2 separate regions of the Homo sapiens genome follow, and region 2 is linked to region 1. Evidence: promoter capture Hi-C in 16 types of primary human blood cells and fetal thymus (Javierre and others, 2016). All regions are on one chromosome and are shown on one strand. The core of a region is centred on a gene start or on the middle of the fragment in contact, and the rest is flanking DNA. Distances in the headings are between cores, read along the strand shown.

Region 1 (5,465 bases), core at 1,347-3,846:
CATCTCCAGGCATATACACAAGAGAAGTGAGTGTGTATGTCCACTAAAATACATAAAAAAGAATGTGTACAGAGGTTTCATTCGTAACAGCCCCAAAGTGGAAACAACCCAAATAGCCACCAAAAGGAAAATGGAAAAAATTGTGGCATAATACAAAAGAATCTATACAACATCTAAATGCACAAACTACCAATGCACGCAACAAAATGTGTGAATCTCTCAGATACTATGTTGCGCAAAAAAAGCCAGATACTGTATGACTCAATGTACATGAAGTTTGGAAATAGGTAATACCAATCAAATGGTCAGAAGAGTATTACTTCTGAGAGTAGAGAGTGGACACCGACTAGGAAGGCGCAATAGGAAAACTTCTAAGGTTCCGGAAGTGTACATGTCTTGATCACGATGGTGTTTACACAAGCATTCACATAGGTAAAATTCAGATGAGTACATTTTACAGTATGTTACACCTCCATTTATTAAGACAGATTAATATGTTTTATTCTGCTACAGTCACTCCCCTTCTCTGGCCTCAATTTCTCCCTCTATTAAATGAAAGGATTAGATTATAAACTTGTTTCCACTGTTAACAGCAATTCTCACACTATAATGCCTGTTCATCTCTCTGTATCCCTTCATTAGACTGAGTGCCTTTACTTGTATACTTCTGACAAATAGTAAACATTCCATGAGTACCAACTGGATGGATAGAAATGAATGAACCTACCAGAATATGTAATATAAATAGCAAAGTAAATGAATGGAATGACAGTAAACACAATGAGAATTAAGAAGAGGGAAAGCTGGAGTAGTCGAGCCCATGACTTGAGCAGGATCCTAAACAATGCTAACTCATGCCCAAAACAAAGTCCGATTTCTCTCTGCTGCTATGCCTTGCTGTTTCCCCAGGACCTTAGCACCACTCTTCGTATTCTAAGCAAGTTTTTTCAGTCTTTCATGGCATATGTCATGGCACACAGAGAAAAAGAAAATTGTATAGTACCATGAAATAAAAGTGTCACAAAGATAAAAATCTCAGCACTTACCTAACTCTTGAAACATGGTGGGTTGTACACAATGCTACAATACAGTTCAGTTCTTGGGGAACTGCCTAAGAAATCTTAAAGAATGTTCATTCTACCTTGCTTTCCATGATCAAAAGTTTAATTTAATGTCAGTTTTTGCTATTTTGCACCTTCCGTTCCACAGCCATGTCGTAGACCTGGAAACCTTTATGGAATCATGACTATGAATTAATCAGTGCAAATGAACTTTCTGTCTGACTCTAGCGTGCCTCAAGTTTAGAAAGGAATAAAAGGTAACCACTATAAAGTAGAAAGGATGAGACCAGTACCATCAAAAGTAGCTGGAATTTGCAGTTTCGGTGTTAGTATGAACATCAAGACATGCTGCCAGCCTCAGACTCTTCTCACTCTCACTACATCTGGCTGATAAAAAAGAGTAATACAGCTCTAAACTGTGCTCGACAAAGGGCAGTATAGAGCTTTAGGAACACATGTACTTCATGTTATAGAGGCAGCCCTGAAGAACTGCCTGTCAACCAAACTATATTTTAAGTATCCTGTTAAAGATTATTAGTTGACCCCAGTGGCAAATTCTATAAGAGAATAATCTGCAATGAGAGATCAGTCCTTAATTTACTTCAATCAATAAACACGTTTTGAGCAACTAGTTTTTGCCAAGAAATCGCAGAGGTCACATGTCCAAGAAATAGACTCATGGAATCTATGGATTAGAATCTTAAAGGTTTACTATCCAGTCCCTTCTTCTGATTGCTGAGTAGGAGATTCTGATTGCTGAATCTCCTCTCCTCCACATAAGTAAGCGTTCTTCCAGTTCCTATTTGAGCGCTTCTAGTAACGGGAAGCTCATGAGAAGCAATCCATTGCACTTTTGGCAACTCTAATTGTTGAAAGCTCTCCCTAACAAACACCAAGATCTGCCTCTTCCATCAACTAGTTCTAGGTATAGAGGCCAGAATCAAGAACTAGTCTAACTCCTCTTTCCGGGACAGCTGAGGCCCTGACACCTGGCAGTGGCTGACACCTCCCGGCCGGGGCGGCTGCATCCCTAAACGAAAAATCGAAGCTGCCAGCAGCCGAGGTGCAGCGAAGAAGGCCCGGGGCTGGGGGTCAGGAGGCCCGCGTGCGACAGAGGAACGCTCTGTGGTCGTGGACAGGACGCTTTGACAAGGCGGCTGGCTGGGCGGATTCCCTCTCCGACTCGGGGAGAATCTGCACACATACGCCAGCGGAGTTGACGCGACCCCCGGGCCCCGGGACTCGGCTTGCACGAGCCAGTCTGGGGACCGGGGAGGCGGGGAGAGGGAAGGGGAAAGCGCGGACGCGGCCCAAACCTCCAGTAGCCGCAGCCGCCGTCGCCGAGTAGGGCCGGGCAGCCAGCCGGGCCTGGCGCAGCATCAGTGCCCGCTGCCGCTTCCGCTCGATACTCGCCCGCACCGAGGCAGGCAGCTCCGCGGGTTGCTCTAAAGCCGCCGCCTCCGGCAAAGCCCCGTCGGCCGCCGCCATCTCTGGCCCACTCCGAGGACCTAGCTCCCAGCTCCACGCACGCGCACTGCACGCCGAGGCGAGCCAGCCGCCCTGCACCGCCTCTGCGCTCCCCGCACCCAGCGGCCTTTCTGAGTGAGAGCGCCTGCGCAGTTAAGGGGCTCGGGGTGGCCTGCCCGGGCGCTGGGCGGAGTCTGGGTATGCGCGGACACGGAGTACCCGCCTAACTACCTGCTCTCTTGTCATCCGGGAGAAGGGTCCGTGCTGAGATCATATCTCACGACCTGGTCACCTTTAAAATAGGTCTCGCTTGGTGATTCAGAGTATAGGCTTTGGAGTCAGGCCTGGGTTAAGTCTGAGCTCTTGACAGTTAAAGTCTGTGTGACCTTGGGCAAGTTATTTAACCAGAGTTCAGTTTCTTCAGTGGTAAAATGAGGATAATTATGGAACCATTTACCGAGTCTTTGGGAGGATTAGATTGCCAGGACAATAACCTGGCACGTAGAAGACCTCAAAAAATGGTAACAGTGAGTAGTAGTAGTGCCAGTCATAGAGCCCAACAGATGATAGTCCTGATTTTATGTTGGATACACGGCCTAGAGACACAGCCTTAGATTTAAAATGAGAAGACCTGGGTTGAAACTCCCAGTTAACTTGCTGTGTGACCTCAGGCAAATGCAGGACTTGCTCCAAGGCTGATATGCATAAGGTTGGCTATCTTTCCCATGGAATATTCCTTCAGTGAGGATGAGCTACTGCCAGGTAGACAGTGGGTTTGGATCTGGGCCAAATATCCTGACTTCCCAAAAGTGTGGCTAGTGTAACAAAAGAAACATAGCAGGCTTTCCCAAAAATGTATGCTTTCCCTTTGTTACAAATAATGCTTAATTGAAACCAGAAAACATTAACTTCTAATTACTACATGTACCATTTAGGACTGGCTTTTAGAAAGACAACCTCACACACTGATGTTTCCCACTAATGTTCAATGGTTAACCTTTCAGAAACACAATTCAGTGTTCTAATTTATCGGTCATATATACATAAAGCTGCAAAACCTCGTATAAAGCAGTTACCTGCTGAAATCTTAGGTTGAATTGGAGATAGAATCTCAAGCCATCCCCATCTCCCTTCCCCTCAGATCCTTCTTTCTCCCTACCCATCAATCTTGCCCAGGTGAAACTATTTCAAATTCCATAACATCAAAAGCACAAGCAACAAAAGAAAAAAAGCTGGACTTCATTAAAATTAAAAACTAGGCTGGGCACAGTGGTTCACACCTGTAATCTCAACAGTTTGGGAGGCCAAGGCAGGAGGATGACTTGAGGTCATGAGTTCAAGACAAGCTGAGGCAACACAGTGAGACCCTGTCACTATTAAAAAATAATAATAATTGGCAAGGTGCAGTGGCTCATGTCTGTAATCCCAGCCCTTTGGGAGGCCAACACAGGAGGATTGCTTGAGACCAGGAGTTCAAGACCAACCTGGGCAATGTAACAAGAACCCATCTCAGGAGGTCAAGGCTGCAGTGAGCTGTGATGGCACCACTACACTCCAGCCTGGGCAACACAATAACATCTTGTCTCAAAAAAAAATTAAAGTCGTCGGCAAAGCCTGAGTCCTGTCCTCTCACTCTCCTCCCTGGACAGCATAAGCTTCACCACTCGCTCCACCTTCTCCACCAACTACCGGTCCCTGGGTTCTGTCCAGGCACCCAGCTACGGTGTCCGGCTGGTCAGCAGCATAGCCAGCGTCTGTACAGGCACGGGGGCTCTGGTTCCCGGATCTCCATGTCCCGCTCCACCAGCTACCTGAGCAGCATGGGTTCCGGGGGCCTGGCCGCGGGGATGGCCAGGGGTCTGGCAGGAATGAGAGGCATCCAGAACAAGAAGGAGACCGTGCAAAACCTGAACAACTGCCTGGCCTCCTACCTGGACAGAATGAGGAGCCTGGAGGCCAAGAACTGGAAGCTGGAGAGTAAAATCCAGGAGCACCTGTAGAAGAAGGGACCCCAGGTCAGAGATGAGCCATTACTTCAAGACCATTGAGGGCCTGAGGACTCAGATCTTCACAAATACTGTGGACAATGCCTGCATTGTTCTGCAGATTGACAATGCTGGTCTTGCTGCTGATGACTTTAGAGTCAAGTATGAGACAGAGCTGGCCATGCGCCAGTCTGTGGAGAGCCACATCCATGGGCTCCGGAGGTCACTGATGACACCAGTGTCACTCGGCTGCAGCTGGAGACAGAGATCGAAGCTCTCAAGGAGGAGCTGCTCTTCATGAAGAAGAACCACGAAGAGGAAGTAAAAGTGTTGTACCCGAGCGAGTTAAAAAAACGCCACACTTTGAGATGAATTAAGAGTCCTTTATTAGCCGGCGACCGAGAGACGGCTAACGCTCAAAATTCTCTCGGCCCCGAGGAAGGGGCTTGATTAACTTTTATACCTTGGTTTAGAAAGGGGGGGTCGTCTAGTTAAAACAATTTTACAGAAGTTAAGTAGTCAAAAAGTTAAAAGGATAAATGGTTACAGGAAAGTAAACAGTTCCAGATGCAGGGGCTTTAAGACTATTACAAGGTTATAGATGCAGGGCTTTGGGCGTTATCAAACAGATGAATTCTTGGGGACTGTGGATATAGCTTGCCACAGTATCTTATCAGTTAATTGCATTCTTGGATGTGCTGGGAGTCAGCTTGCACAAGTTAAGTCCTTGAGGAAGGGGCTGCCAGTGAAAGAGCCAAGATGGAGTTTGTCTGGTTCTCTTAGCTAAGGGAGAGTCTGTTCAGGTGGAAACAAGCCTAGGTGAAAAAGGAAAAATGAGGTTGGGCATTACAAAAGGCCTACAAGCCTAGATTGCCAGCTCTGGGTTGACCATGGAGGTAGATGCCCCCAGTCTCGGGACCTTGCCAAGATCATGGCAGACATCCGGCCCCAA
Region 2 (5,465 bases), core at 891-3,390, 160 kb after region 1:
GCTTTTAAGAGACCGGGTCTCCCTTTGCTGCACAGGCTGGAGTGCTGTGGCTACTCACAGGCACAATGATTGTGCACTACAGCCTGGAACTCCTGGGCTCAAGCGATCTTCCTGCCTTAACCTCCAGTAGCTGGGACTACAGGCTCCCGCCACCGTGCCTGGTTTAGTCCCAGTATCTTAATACATAGGTTTTTAGACTTTGACTAGAAGCTTAAGTCAAAGGAATATAAGCATAGTCAAAGTTAGACTCCCAGTCTTGGAATCTTAGAATTACAGGGTCGCAGGATCGCAGGATCGCATTCTTTAGATTTATGGAATCACGTTAGGACAACGGTCGTCCAGAATTTAAAATCTAGATATCTGAATCTCAGAATCTTGAAAGTTACTGAGAGCCACGAAATCCCGTATTAAAAGGTGCCTATAATATAATCCAGTTAAAAATTTTAAAATTTGAAGTTTTTCCTCCTTTGTAAAAACGAAACAGGACGAAATCTGGGTTTTTTGCTTCTCCATTACTTGGGAAGAAGGAAACCAGGAGTTTTGTTTAGCGAGTGTAAAGCCCCTCTCCCTTCGTTCGACCAACCCTCTGCCGCAGAAGGTTGTCAAGCAAACGCTTTGAGCGTTTCCACACACCGGGTCGACGGAGCAAGGATCTGGGCTTTGCCTCGCTCTTCCGAAGGCAGCTGCCCAACGCTTGGCCGGGCTTAGCCTGCCCTCAGCTCACCGCCACGAAGAACGCGACTAAAACCCTGGAAGGCATGCCACCCGTTACTGGCCAGAACTCTCGTCTTGGGATCTCCCACACTCACCTGGCACCACCATCCGCGCGGCTCTGCACCCACAGCCCCGGCCCGCCCCCCCCCCCCACCCCGGAAAGCTGCGTCCGGGCTGGAGCCACTGGAACCCGCGCCAAGGCCCGGAATCCTATACGTAGCAGGGGCCTCGGAGATCAGCACACGCCCTCCAGCTGCTATTTAACAGAGTAGAACACTGAGGCCCTGCGAGGGGACAAGGACAGGCCCTGGATCTCCCAGTGAATGGCCAGGGAACGAACCCGGGCCAGAGGGGCCGCGCCGCGAGGATCTCAGGTTAGGACCAAGTTCCGGCTCAGGGACAGCAGGAAAGGAACTCAGAAATTGGACACCCATGAAGCAAACGTGTCCCGACTGCCCGCCCCTTCCCCCGGAGACGCGCCCACCCGGCCACCGCTCTCTTCCCACTCCCCCATTACCCGCAGCCCTCACTCCCCGCTGCGGGAAGGGGCTGCTTGGCTGCCTCTGGGGGTCTTCAGAGCTACCCTGGTCCCGGGGGATTGGAGGAGGAGGTTACCTATCCTGCGTCGTCTTTAATCCGTGCACCACTATCCATCAAATAGAGACAGATCCTGGGCCTCTCAAAGACGGATGATTGGGGGTGGTGATTGGCCTATCCCTAAATATCTACCACGCAAGGACTCTTGAGAGATCCAGACCCCGGTACAGTCGAGGGACCTGGGGCCCAAAAAGGGAAAGCGGCTACCTCTACCACACAGTTGGGAAGCGCAGTCCTAAAGGAGACGCAGGTTGGAGACTCCGCTAAGCGGAGAAGCCGCAGTGGGGCCATGGCAAGTCACCTTCCCTTTCGGGCCTAGGAATACTCATTCGAAAGATGGGGGGACTGGAGTGCCGAGTGGCTGTGGCAGCCACGATTGGGGTTTGGAAACCATCCTGAAAGGCCCGGGGAGCCAGTCTCCTGGAACTTCTCCCTCCCCATTCCCACAAAAACCAAGCGCCCTCTCGGCCAATTCTCACCCTCTCAGGACAAAAAAGTGAGATGAGCCCGTCCTTTCACCTGCGAGTCCAAGCCCTTGGCAGAGGCCTGAAAAGTCCGAAAACTCCGAGTTCGGGCGCTGAGGTCTCCCGAGCCGGTTCCTGAACTCTCCGGGCCTCAGTCGATCGGGGTGCGGAGGGGGCCGACCCGGGGGATCTCCAAGCGCCCTCCCCGCCCTGACGCTGTGGGGCTCCTACCGCGCCGCCACAGCTGCTCCTACCTGGGGAGGTGCGCCCGGGCCCCGGGGGGCGGGCAGTCGGGGGGCGGGCAGGGAACCGGTGCCGCCCCACGCTTCGTGGCCCCTTTAAGGAGGGGAAGCCGGCGGAGGGAGGAGCCGGTCCGGTGTGTGCAGGGGAGCGCCTCGCCAGCGGTCCGCAGGGCTGGAGACCCACGCCGTGGAGAGGACCAGCCTCAGGTCGCCCCGCCTGGGCCCGCGCCCCGACCTCGCTGCCCCCGCCTCGCCTCTCTGCCCGTGGCGCTTACGGCCACCTTGGCCTCGGGGGCAGGGCATGGGCGGCCCCCGCCAGATCGCCCAGCGCCAGTACTAACTGCCCTCGCTCTGGCCTTCGAGCCCGAAGCCTCTTCTGCGCGCACAACCTAGGCAGTAATCCTAAACTAGCGGGCACCACAGACCAGCTGCAGCCACCCCAACCCAGGGATCACTTCCGGACCCCTCGACCGCCCGGCACCAGCGCGCAAGGGACCCTTCAGCCGGAGACCAGAGTCCAGTCCCGGTCACGAGGCCACCGCCGCTGCCCGCCTCGAGAAGCACCACGCGGGCTGAGCCGTCGGCTAGCGGGTCACTCCCGAGCCTCTGTCTGCACCGCGCCAGCCCCAGACCACGGACGCTGAGCCTCCAGCGCGTGCCAGCCTGGGCCGCTGGGCTCTCGGGGCCAGCCCGCGACGATCCCCTGAGCTCTCCGCAGAAGGGCCGAGCGTCCGTTCCGGGGACGCCAGGCCCGCCCCCGCCCCCCGACAGCCGCGGGGATCCAGAGCCCGGGGGTGCGGGACGCCCGCGCCATGACTGCCGAGAGCGGGCCGCCGCCGCCGCAGCCGGAGGTGCTGGCTACCGTGAAGGAAGAGCGCGGCGAGACGGCAGCAGGGGCCGGGGTCCCAGGGGAGGCCACGGGCCGCGGGGCGGGCGGGCGGCGCCGCAAGCGCCCCCTGCAGCGCGGGAAGCCGCCCTACAGCTACATCGCGCTCATCGCCATGGCCATCGCGCACGCGCCCGAGCGCCGCCTCACGCTGGGCGGCATCTACAAGTTCATCACCGAGCGCTTCCCCTTCTACCGCGACAACCCCAAAAAGTGGCAGAACAGCATCCGCCACAACCTCACACTCAACGACTGCTTCCTCAAGATCCCGCGCGAGGCCGGCCGCCCGGGTAAGGGCAACTACTGGGCGCTTGACCCCAACGCGGAGGACATGTTCGAGAGCGGCAGCTTCCTGCGCCGCCGCAAGCGCTTCAAGCGCTCGGACCTCTCCACCTACCCGGCTTACATGCACGACGCGGCGGCTGCCGCAGCCGCCGCCGCCGCCGCCGCCGCCGCCGCCGCCATCTTCCCAGGCGCGGTGCCCGCCGCGCGCCCCCCCTACCCGGGCGCCGTCTATGCAGGCTACGCGCCGCCGTCGCTGGCCGCGCCGCCTCCAGTCTACTACCCCGCGGCGTCGCCCGGCCCTTGCCGCGTCTTCGGCCTGGTTCCTGAGCGGCCGCTCAGCCCAGAGCTGGGGCCCGCACCGTCGGGGCCCGGCGGCTCTTGCGCCTTTGCCTCCGCCGGCGCCCCCGCTACCACCACCGGCTACCAGCCCGCAGGCTGCACCGGGGCCCGGCCGGCCAACCCCTCCGCCTATGCGGCTGCCTACGCGGGCCCCGACGGCGCGTACCCGCAGGGCGCCGGCAGTGCGATCTTTGCCGCTGCTGGCCGCCTGGCGGGACCCGCTTCGCCCCCAGCGGGCGGCAGCAGTGGCGGCGTGGAGACCACGGTGGACTTCTACGGGCGCACGTCGCCCGGCCAGTTCGGAGCGCTGGGAGCCTGCTACAACCCTGGCGGGCAGCTCGGAGGGGCCAGTGCAGGCGCCTACCATGCTCGCCATGCTGCCGCTTATCCCGGTGGGATAGATCGGTTCGTGTCCGCCATGTGAGCCAGCGTAGGGACGAAAACTCATAGACACATCGGCTGTTCACACGTTCCCCGCAATCTGAGAACGAACAGGAATGGAGAGAGGACTCAACTGGGACCCACGTGGAAAAGACCGAGCAGGCCACAGAGGCTCGGTCTCCCCGCGCACAGCGTAGGCACCCGGTGTACTCTGTAAACGGGAGGAGGTGGGGCGAGGCAGCCAGAGCCCTTGGACTGGCACAGGGACCCTCGATGGAGCGAAGCCCTCAAACGGGATGCTTTCTGGTATTCTATCGGGGAGGGTCCTTGGCGGTAACCAGAGGGCAGCGTAGTGTCAACACCAGAGACCAGGATCCAAATTGTGGGGAATCAGTTTCAGCCTTCCATGTGCTGCCGGAACTCGGGCCTTTTTACGCGGTTCGTCCTCTAGTGCCTTTAACTGCGTTACTACAATAAAAGGCTGCGGCAGCGCCTTTCTTCTTAAAGTGAGGAGGACAAATTTGCAAAAGAAATAGGCTTTTCTTCTTTTTTAAATTGGAGAAATCTCTGCTCTGGTTGACCTGGGCTGGTTTTCCCTGTCTCTGAGAACTTGAGACCTAGCTCCGAGTTGAACTGTGCGTCAGCACTCCAGTCCCATCACCTGAACCTTCAGTCTCCCCCATCTGTTACACTAGAGGGCTGCAGGACTCTATCCACCGCCCCCGGGTTATCATTCAGGGCCCCATCATCTTGGATGCTGCCCTGCGTATTTGGCAGCAATGGTGGGCCACCCAGGGCCTCTGAGTAGCCACCCAAAGCCTAGCCGCTGTTCTAGGGAACGGAAAAGAGTTCATGGCCAAGCGTCTAACCTAAAGTCCCAGGATTGGCTCCAGGCAGCAATTATATCATAACTTATTGAACTTTTGAGCAGGACGTGCTGGTAATTTCATGGCTGTTACTGCCCAGTCATAAATCTGCTTTTCCATTATAAGGCAGAGAGAAGTACATTCGTTCATTTGTCCACTGTTTCTTGTCATCACGCAGCCCTGGACCCAAAGGGTGAACTAAAGTTTAAGGAGATGAGAGGATTCAAGGAGCCCGTTGGTGACGCCTTTCAGTAGCTGGGGAGGGCTCTTCCATCCCCAGCACCCCCTGCTACACCTCAGCAGCCTCCCCCATGCAAAAAGGAAAGAGAAAAATTAAGTTAGGGCAGTCAGTAAAGTGAGCTTTAGAAAGAAACTGGAATTTTAACTTCATTTTGTATCTTGCTTAAGTAGCAGGCTCACTAAAATTAGAGAAAGTCCAATAACTCTCCCCCTTTCCCTTGAGAAATCTTTAAGTTTCGATTCTGGAGCAAAAACTTTCAGCATTAAATATTTCAGAGGCTCCATTCACAGCTTTCAGATAAACTGGAGTGTTCAGATGGACTGTTTTAATAAAAATCTTTGAGCAAGTGAGTTATGGCAAGAGAAACTCAGCCTCTTTCTGTATAAACTTAACAGGGAAGGGCTGGGGTGTGAAAAAGAAGATTGTATGAAAACCATTGGTAATTTTTAT

Evidence for each region. The method cuts DNA at HindIII sites, captures the fragments that hold promoters and counts their contacts. A CHiCAGO score of 5 or more calls a contact.
Region 2: the fragment with the promoter of FOXE1 here is called in contact with the fragment with the promoter of XPA in region 1 in 3 of 17 cell types (megakaryocytes, endothelial precursors and erythroblasts); the score reaches 6.6 in megakaryocytes.

Annotation. Positions count from the first base shown.
Region 1 is chr9:97,694,744-97,700,208 of GRCh38, forward strand. It overlaps XPA (XPA, DNA damage recognition and repair factor), which reads right to left and starts at 2,597. Exons shown (of 6, transcript NM_000380.4): 1 at 2,378-2,597. The coding sequence starts at 2,549. PTCSC2 (papillary thyroid carcinoma susceptibility candidate 2) reads right to left here. Exons shown (of 11, transcript NR_147055.1): 11 at 4,882-5,328. It also overlaps the pseudogene KRT18P13. RefSeq lists enhancers at 1,989-2,048, 2,059-2,108 and a silencer at 2,659-2,758. The HindIII fragment of the contact is 4,221 bases long and covers 1-4,181 here.
Region 2 is chr9:97,851,086-97,856,550 of GRCh38, forward strand. FOXE1 (forkhead box E1) reads left to right here and starts at 2,141. Exons shown (of 1, transcript NM_004473.4): 1 at 2,141-5,465. The coding sequence starts at 2,830. The coding sequence ends at 3,951. PTCSC2 (papillary thyroid carcinoma susceptibility candidate 2) reads right to left here and starts at 1,995. Exons shown (of 11, transcript NR_147055.1): 1 at 1,831-1,995. RefSeq lists an enhancer at 608-1,109. The HindIII fragment of the contact is 6,931 bases long and covers 209-5,465 here.